Regions from separate parts of the Homo sapiens genome. Here regions 1 and 2 are each linked to region 3. Evidence: promoter capture Hi-C in 16 types of primary human blood cells and fetal thymus (Javierre and others, 2016). All regions are on one chromosome and are shown on one strand. Each heading gives the region's core, a stretch centred on a gene start or on the middle of the fragment in contact. The rest is flanking DNA. Distances are from core to core; before and after follow the strand shown.

The links. The method cuts DNA at HindIII sites, captures the fragments that hold promoters and counts their contacts. A CHiCAGO score of 5 or more calls a contact.
Region 1: the fragment with the promoter of GAPDHS here is called in contact with a fragment that was not itself captured in region 3 in 1 of 17 cell types (erythroblasts); the score reaches 8.8 in erythroblasts.
Region 2: the fragment with the promoter of HPN-AS1 here is called in contact with a fragment that was not itself captured in region 3 in 3 of 17 cell types (total CD8 T cells, naive CD8 T cells and naive CD4 T cells); the score reaches 6.1 in total CD8 T cells.

What each region holds. Positions count from the first base shown.
Region 1 is chr19:35,532,112-35,534,811 of GRCh38, forward strand. It overlaps GAPDHS (glyceraldehyde-3-phosphate dehydrogenase, spermatogenic), which reads left to right and starts at 1,345. Exons shown (of 11, transcript NM_014364.5): 1 at 1,345-1,483. The coding sequence starts at 1,417. RefSeq lists an enhancer at 2,202-2,331. The HindIII fragment of the contact is 5,250 bases long and covers 1-2,700 here.
Region 2 is chr19:35,104,934-35,107,633 of GRCh38, forward strand. HPN-AS1 (HPN antisense RNA 1) reads right to left here and starts at 1,371. Exons shown (of 4, transcript NR_024562.1): 1 at 1,296-1,371. LOC124904701 (hepatitis A virus cellular receptor 1-like) reads left to right here. Exons shown (of 3, transcript XR_007067238.1): 2 at 1-1,903. The HindIII fragment of the contact is 15,680 bases long and covers 1-2,700 here.
Region 3 is chr19:35,307,785-35,310,484 of GRCh38, forward strand. It overlaps MAG (myelin associated glycoprotein), which reads left to right. Exons shown (of 11, transcript NM_002361.4): 8 at 2,090-2,377. Among named protein-coding and RNA genes, the nearest start is that of MAG, 17 kb to the left of the region's middle. The HindIII fragment of the contact is 1,017 bases long and covers 859-1,875 here.

The DNA of each region.
Region 1 (2,700 bases), core at 95-2,594, 220 kb after region 3:
AATTGACATTTATTCATTCAGGTATAGTTTATTGGGCTAACGCCTTTTTCAGACAGGGTCTTGCTCTGTCTCCCAGCTGGAGTGCAGTGACACAATCACAGCTCACTGCAGCCTTGACCTCCTAGGCTCAAGTGATCCTCCCACCTCAGCCTCCCTAATAATTGGGACAACAGGCATGCACCACCACACCTGGCTACTTTTTTTATTTTTTGTAGATACAGGGTTTTGCCACATTGCCCATGTTGGTCTCAAACTCCTGGACTCAAATGATCCTCCCACCTCAGCCTCCCAAAGTGTTGGGATTACAGGCATGAGCCACTGCGTCCAGCCCACAAACACCTTTCAGGTGCCAAACACTTTTCTTGTCAATGGGATACAGAAGTGACATAGATGACGTCCCTGTCCTCTCAGAGCTTACAGTCTGGTGGACAGAGACAGTTGGCAAGAAAACAAACAATTTTTAGAGAGACATGTGCTCTAAGGAAAATAAAAACATAGACAGTGTAGCCCTAGAGAAATTTTGCACACTGAAGCATAACTCAGAATGGAGAAGTCAGACAAGGCTTCCTGGAAGATGGGCAGAAATTGGGAAGGGGGTGACGGCTGACAGTGACAGAGAAAGGAGGGAACTTAGATGCAGAGTGTAGAAAGCCTCTCTTAAAGGGTGGGAAACCAAGAGGCAGCCAAGGGAAGCCCTGGGTGGGCCTTCCAGGCATACGGAGGCAGCAAGAGTCACTCCACTGGAGAATCCAAGGGACAGCATGGAACCTGTGTGCTTCAAGAGACAGAGAAGAGGAAAGGGCTTTCAGGAACAGTGTAAAAGGTGGGATTCCAGGCTGGGTGTGGTGGCTCGCTCCTGTAATCCCAGCATTTTGGAAGGCCGAGGTGGGAGGATCGCTTGAGCCCAAGGGTTCTAGACCAGCCTGAGCAAAAGAGTGAGACCCTCTCTCTACAAAAAAATAAAAAGTAAAAATAGCCTGCAGTGGTGGCTGCACATGTAGTCCCAGCTACTCAGGAGGCCGAGGCGGGAGGATCGCTTGAGCCCAGGAGTTCAAGGCTGCAGTGAGCCATGATTGCACCACTGCACTCCAGCCTAGGAGAAAGAGTGACACCCCGTCTCAAAATAAATAAACAAATGATAATTTTAAAAAGTGGGATTCCATTCCAGACGGCAGTGCGTGGCCGTGGAACGGTGATGCATAGCGTGCTGACGTCCCATGCCTCTACGGGGATGGGATGCGATGGTGTCAGGCCTCTGGCTTGGGCGCCGCCCCTCGGCGACGTCACTGGGTACTGTGACGTCACTGGGTGCTGTGACATCAGGGCAATTAGCCCAGGACCCACAGCCCTGGCGCTCCGCACGCACCTCGGTAACATCACAGCAGGTCCAGGCCAATGATAACCTTATAAGAGGCCATGTCGAAGCGCGACATCGTCCTCACCAATGTCACCGTTGTCCAGTTGCTGCGACAGCCGTGCCCGGGTGAGGGAGGCAGCGGAGGGCGCGGGGGAGGGGTGGAAAGGGTAGTGGGGAGCGTCTGCACCCTCACACCTGTGCCGTATCCCTACCGCCCTTCCTGGCGTGTGCACCATCTAGGGACCAGGGGATCAGCCGCTCTCCCTCCCTCCACACCCGCCAGTGTGCTGGCAGAGTGGGGTTTACTGCCATGGCGGGGAGACCGGGCCTCCGCCCCCAGGGCTGGGTGGGCTTCGCGCCGCTATCACGCGGTAGAAAGAGCAGAAACGAGGGCCATCGGAGGCTGCAGCCTGAAAGTGGCGGGAAGTGGGCGGGCTTAGGAGGGGCTTAGGGAGAACCCAGGGGTGCTGGGCTTCCATGTAAAAGTGATGTTCATGGCGCTTCGCGTGAGGTGAGCTTTGCCCTCCCTGTGATGCACAAAACAAGGACACTTGGAACCTTGCCGGGGACGTGCTGACCACTTCGCAGGCGAGAGCTCAGGGAAGCCTCACCACCACCTGAGAAGGCCAGAGTGTGCCCGCAGTTTACAGAGCGGCCAACAGAGGTTAAGAGAGGGCAAACTACTTCCTTAGTCTCTCAACAAGGGCGGCGCGCCCGCGCGCGCGCACACACACACACACACACTCACTCACTCACTCTAGCCGGAGGAACCAGGTCTTCCGGTGGGCTGCCTCCATTCCCACACTGTTCCCTCACTTCCCAAGGGCGGGGGCCGCAGGGGTAGGTGGGGCTGGGGCTTTGGTCCAGGAGACCCTGGAAGACACAGGAGCAGACAGGCTTACCAGCCTCATGAGACTTGAACCCCTGCCCTGCGCATCACTGCTCCGTGGCCTCAGGCTTCATTTTCCCCTCTGTAAAGTGGGTTTATAGCGCATGCCTCTCGGGATTCAGTGGGAGGACGCAGTGAGGAGCTGGGGGCAGCACCCAGCTAGCCCCCAGGCTTTTCTCCAACCGGGGGACCCCACCCCTACAGTGGAGGGGAAGAGAGTGCAAGGCTGGGAGTGCTGGGAGAGGAGGACCATCTGAGTTTTCTTCGGAAGGGTCACCCATTGGGCTCAGATTCCCACCTGAACCAGGTGGACAAATCCCCTTTCTCCCATAGCAGAAACAACCCCCAAGGATGCAAACATCCTCAAGTTCACCAATAAACACTAACACCTTCATGAACTTGGACAGCCACTGGAAACACCTATAGTCCAGCCTCAGGCCACAAGGTCTGTGGC
Region 2 (2,700 bases), core at 121-2,620, 200 kb before region 3:
TGTGCCATACTGGGGAGCTACGCCCAGGAAAGCCAGCAGCGCAGCGTTCCCATGCAGCCCTGGAGACACCTCTTGGCCTGCAGTAAGTGGGTATTCCCAGGGAGGGTCTTTCTCAGCCTGACCTCCCCAGCTGGCCCAATACCACTTCCAGGATGTCCTCCTAGGTCAACACCACCCAAAGTGACCCACTGCATGCCTTTCTGGCTAACTGTTCCCGCGAAGAACCTACCTGCTTAAAACTCTGCAATAACAATAACAGATGACACTGAGTGCTATTGCATCAGTCAGGATGGTCTGGGTTATGCTGAAGTAACGAACTAACCTGAACATGACCCAGCATGACCAAGGTTGTTTCTTCATCACTATCTTCGTCACCTTTGTCATCATCACAGTCACTATCATCATTACCGTCACCATCACCACCACCACCAGCGTCACCATCACCACCACCACCAGCCTCACCACCACCACCACCACCAGCATTACCATCATCACCACCACCACCATCACCACAAGCATTACCATCATCACTACCACCACCATCATTGTTACCACAACCACAACCATCACCACCATCACCATCATCATTGTTACCACAGCCACAGCCATCATCACCACTACCATCACCACCATCATCACCATCACCACCATCACCATCATCATCACCACCACCACCACCATCAACATCATCATCACCATCATAACCATCACCACCAGCATCACCATCACCACCAGCATCAGCATCACCATCACTACTATAATCACCATCACCATTATCACTACCACCACCATCATTGTTACCACAACCACAACTATTGTCATCACCACCACCACCACCCTCACCACTATCATCACTGTCACCATCACCGCTATCATTACCATCACCATCAACACCATCACATCACCAACAACATCACCAGCCCTACCACCATCATCATCATTACTATCACCACGACCACCACCACCACCATTATCACCACCATGATCACGCCACCAGCATTATCACCACCGTGACCACGCCGCCACCGTTAATCACCGCCGTGACCACGCCGCCACCGTTATCACCGCCGTGACCACGCCGCCACCGTTATCACCGCCGTGACCACGCCGCCACCGTTATCACCGCCGTGACCACGCCGCCACCATTATGCTACATCCTGATGATGCCTCCACCTCCCCTCCTTTGCCTTTATGACTTACCCTTGGCCCCCACAACCCTCTCTCCGCTCCCTTGGTCCTATTCTGGTTGGAAATGCTCCAGAATAGTAATGCTTGCTCAATTATTTAACTCCTACCTGTTTTCTTCCAGAGCTGGCCTGTCCTCCCCGCAGCAATTACGAGCTCTGCGGCTCCTCCTGTCCTAGCTCTTGTGCCGAGCCTGCCCTGCCCGACAGCTGCCTGACACCATGCCAGGATGGCTGCCAGTGTGACCCAGGCTTTGTGCTCAGTGGCATGGACTGCGTGCCCCCAATCCAGTGCAGCTGCTCCATGGGGGGCAGGTACCACCACCCGGCTGGGGAGGCCTTCTGGACTGGGGAGCGCTGTGAGCAATTCTGCCACTGCCAGGCCTCCACCCACGCCGTGTGCTGCTCCCCGTCCTCCTGTGGGCCGGGGCAGAGATGTGAGACCCTCAGGGGCATCTTTGGGTGCCACCCACTCTCCCCTGGCATTTATCAAGCAACCATGCACTCACACGTCGCCTCCTTTGACCGGAAGAGTGTTGAGTTTCCAGGCACTTGCGCTTCTGCTTTTACCAAGTCCTGTGGCTCCTCCAGCTCATTGCGCCTTTTCAAGGTGGAAATTGGGAAGGAGAAACAAGTCCAGCAGTCCCATTGTGTTCATTTCAAAGATGTAGGTTCATGGGACCCAGGTTTGTCTGCAGAGAGAGCCCCGACCTGATGAGGTAAGCACTCATTGGCATCTAGAGACTCTTGAACCGATTGAAGCTAAAAGAAATACATTGGCTCAAACTAAGTAAAAATCATGTGATAGCCTAGTGAAAGTGTAGAGATTCTGGGTCCACAGAAGTTCCCTATATACCACTTTGGCTGTTTTGGTTACAGAAAGCCTCATAAAAGGTAACTCAAACCAGTCACAGACTGTGTTTTATGATTTTTAGACTAATTACATAACTGAAAATTCCAGAGGGAGATCAGGCATGGTTTGATCAGGGTGCTAACTCAGTTTTTCAGCATTTCTCTTGGTCTGTGTTTCTCTATAGCATTAGCTTTGTCCTCAGGCTGGCTTTTCTTGTGATGGCAAAATAACTGCCAATTTTCCAGTCATTAAATGTGTATTCCCCATTGTCCAAAACCCGAATCTTTTCTTACCCCAAGTACTCAACAAAAATTCCAATGCTTCACTTTGATTAAACCCCACTGAGCCAATCAGTGCAGCCCAGAGGTTTTCTTAAGCCTATCTAATCCTACTCAGGAGTTGTAGGTGGGAGAGATCCTGCCCCTACCCCCCATCTCTGGCAGCTACTTCTTGCAGGGAGAGAGGGCAAAATGGGAATCCACCCCTGTGTCCCTATGTCCCCCGAAACCAGTATTTCTTCTTAACAATCTTCAAAGAGTGTAAATGCCCTGGTAAACCTCCACTCTGAGACCTGAAACTTTTGTCTAGAACCCACAGGGGTGGATGTGTTTTCTAGGCCCGAGGGCCCCTGCCTACAAGAGTTCCATTGTTGGCTATTGGAAA
Region 3 (2,700 bases), core at 117-2,616:
AGCAAAGCTCAACCAAGTGACTTTGGGTGGAGGGTGGTGTTTGGTGCTAGTGGCAGGAGGGAATCTCATGGGTGAGGAAGGGCCGGGGTTCAAGGCGGCTTTAGGGGAGGAAGTGGGGGGCATCTGCAGCGCAGACTGAAAGGAAGGAGCACAGCCTGGAAGCCAGAAAGGAGGGGATAGTCTAAGCCTGTGTGAGCCCCAAGGGTCTGGGGAGGCCGGGGGCTGGGAGAGTTCCATGGTTCCTCCCTTCTACGTGTGGGGCCCAGAGTGGAGAAGGAGCAAGCCCCTGTCTTGATGGAAACAGGAGGCCCCTTATGTAAGTGTGTGATGCAGGGAGGGTGAGTGCTGGGGAGGAGAACTGAGTGAGGCAGGGAGTGAATGATACGTGGAGCGAGGTGCAGCTTCCCTGGGTGGTCAGAGAAGGAGACGCCGCATGGGTAGAGGCCAGTTTGGAGCGAGGGAGGGCGTTCCACAGGCAACTGATGGAAGTGTTCCAAGTTGAGGGAGAAACGTACAGACCCTGGAGTGGGAGAAAGCTCCACGATTTTCAGACACAGCAAGGAACCGGTGTGGCTGGAAAGGACTAAGCCAGGGGGAGAGAAGGAGAGAGTGTGTGGTCAGGCAGGGCCTGAGGGGCCTTGTAGATGAAAGACTTTGTATTTTGGGCTGGGCACAGTGGCTTGCGCCTTATAATCCCAGCACTTTGGGAGGCCAAGGCAGGAGGATTGCTTGAGCTCAGGAGTTCAAGACCAGCATGGGGAACATAGCAAGACCCTGTCTCTACAAAAACAAACAAAAACCCTCCAGTAACTATCATGAGTATGACAGATTTACCGTCCTCTGCAATTCTGAACATAAAGCTTTAAAATCAAAAGGCTTTTTGCAAATTTGGCACCACCCTGATTTGACAGCAAAATCTCGCCTAAAGAACACAAGGCTGTTTGTAATCTATACTGATTTCATTTAGGGTGAATATTCGTACTTTTTGCTGTATACATTACATTGAACTATGTGAAATTTTTTCTGCATGTCAAAAATGGTCAAATGTGGCTGGGCGCAGTGGCTTATGCCTGTAATCCCAGCACTTTGGGAGGCTGAGGCGGGAGGATCACTAGAGGCCAAGAGTGCAAATGAGCTATAGTACTGCCACTGCACTTCAGCCTGGGCGACAGGGCCAGACCCTGTCTCTAAACGATAAAAAATAAAGGATTTGTATTTTAGGTGAACCACGGAGCAACAGAAGGAGGGTTTTGAGCAGAGAGTGCCATGATCTGATTTATGTATTACAAGGTGAATGAGGTTAGAGAGAGTGTAAGAGCCAGGGCCCAGGAGAAACGGCCCGTCCCTGTGACATAGTGCTCTGTCCAGGCTGAAGCTGAGGCTAGAGTCGCCTCAAAAGTGGCACCAGAAGAATTGCCCCAAGAGAGCACCCCAAACCACCCCGAAATGAGGCCACTTGGGATTCCAAAGAGAGAGGCACTAAACCACCAGGTGATCATCAGTCCAAAGCATTTGGGAGGGGAACTTGCACAGTGCTACGGCGAGAGAAAGGGAGGGTCTACCCAGACACGTCCGTGAGGGTCAGGGTATGGGTTTACATGAGGGTTTAAGGAATTTGGCCCAGGGCTGGGGCTGGTTTCTTTCATTCTTTCATTTTTGTTGTTGTTGTTGTTTGGGGTTTTTTTGAGACAGCGTCTCATTCTGTAACCTCTCGTACTCCTGACCTCAAGTGATCCACTCACTCTTCGGCCTCGCAAAGTGCTAGGATTACAGCAGTGAGCCACCATGCCCGGCCTCTTTCAGTGTTTTGAGCAACAACCTAAACACCTTTATCAGTGCCTGGGAATGTTCAAGGCCCCAGGCGTGGGTTAGTGAAGCTTGCAGTGAAAACAGGCAGCCGGCGGGGTCGTAGTGAGGTCAAGGCGCTCTCAGTCAGGACAGAGAAAAAAGGAGGGGAAATTGGAGGGCCCTACAGGAAGCTACCGCCCCCATCCTTGGCCACACTGGCCTTGCCTTGAGCCAAGGAGTCTCCGGGGCCGGGCCTCGCGTTGGCTCCGGGCCACCCTCAGACCTGATTTTGCCCCTGCAGTCGCCCCTGTGCTCCTCCTGGAGTCCCACTGCGCGGCAGCCCGAGACACGGTGCAGTGCCTGTGCGTGGTGAAGTCCAACCCGGAGCCGTCCGTGGCCTTTGAGCTGCCATCGCGCAATGTGACCGTGAACGAGAGCGAGCGGGAGTTCGTGTACTCGGAGCGCAGCGGCCTCGTGCTCACCAGCATCCTCACGCTGCGGGGGCAGGCCCAGGCCCCGCCCCGCGTCATCTGCACCGCGAGGAACCTCTATGGCGCCAAGAGCCTGGAGCTGCCCTTCCAGGGAGCCCGTGAGTGGCGTGGACTTGGGGTGGGAGCCACAGGAGGGAGCGGGCACGTCTTAGATCCAAGCTCCCAAGGCTGACCAACAGCCACAGAGCATGGGCTATGCAGATTGACAGAAAGGTCAAATTCTCCCTTTCCGGTTGGAGAGGAGAAGCCGCCCTGAGTTTGCCCCGAGTTTGCTAGGACCTTTGAGGCATGAGCCCCTCCCCAGGGCCCTCTAGCATGAAAGGGATTGCCCTGGCACGAGGAGGCTCCGTGCCAATCAGTCAGTGCAAGGATGCCCCGGCTGTGTGACTACATTGACTGTCATCCCAGCATGTCTCCAAAG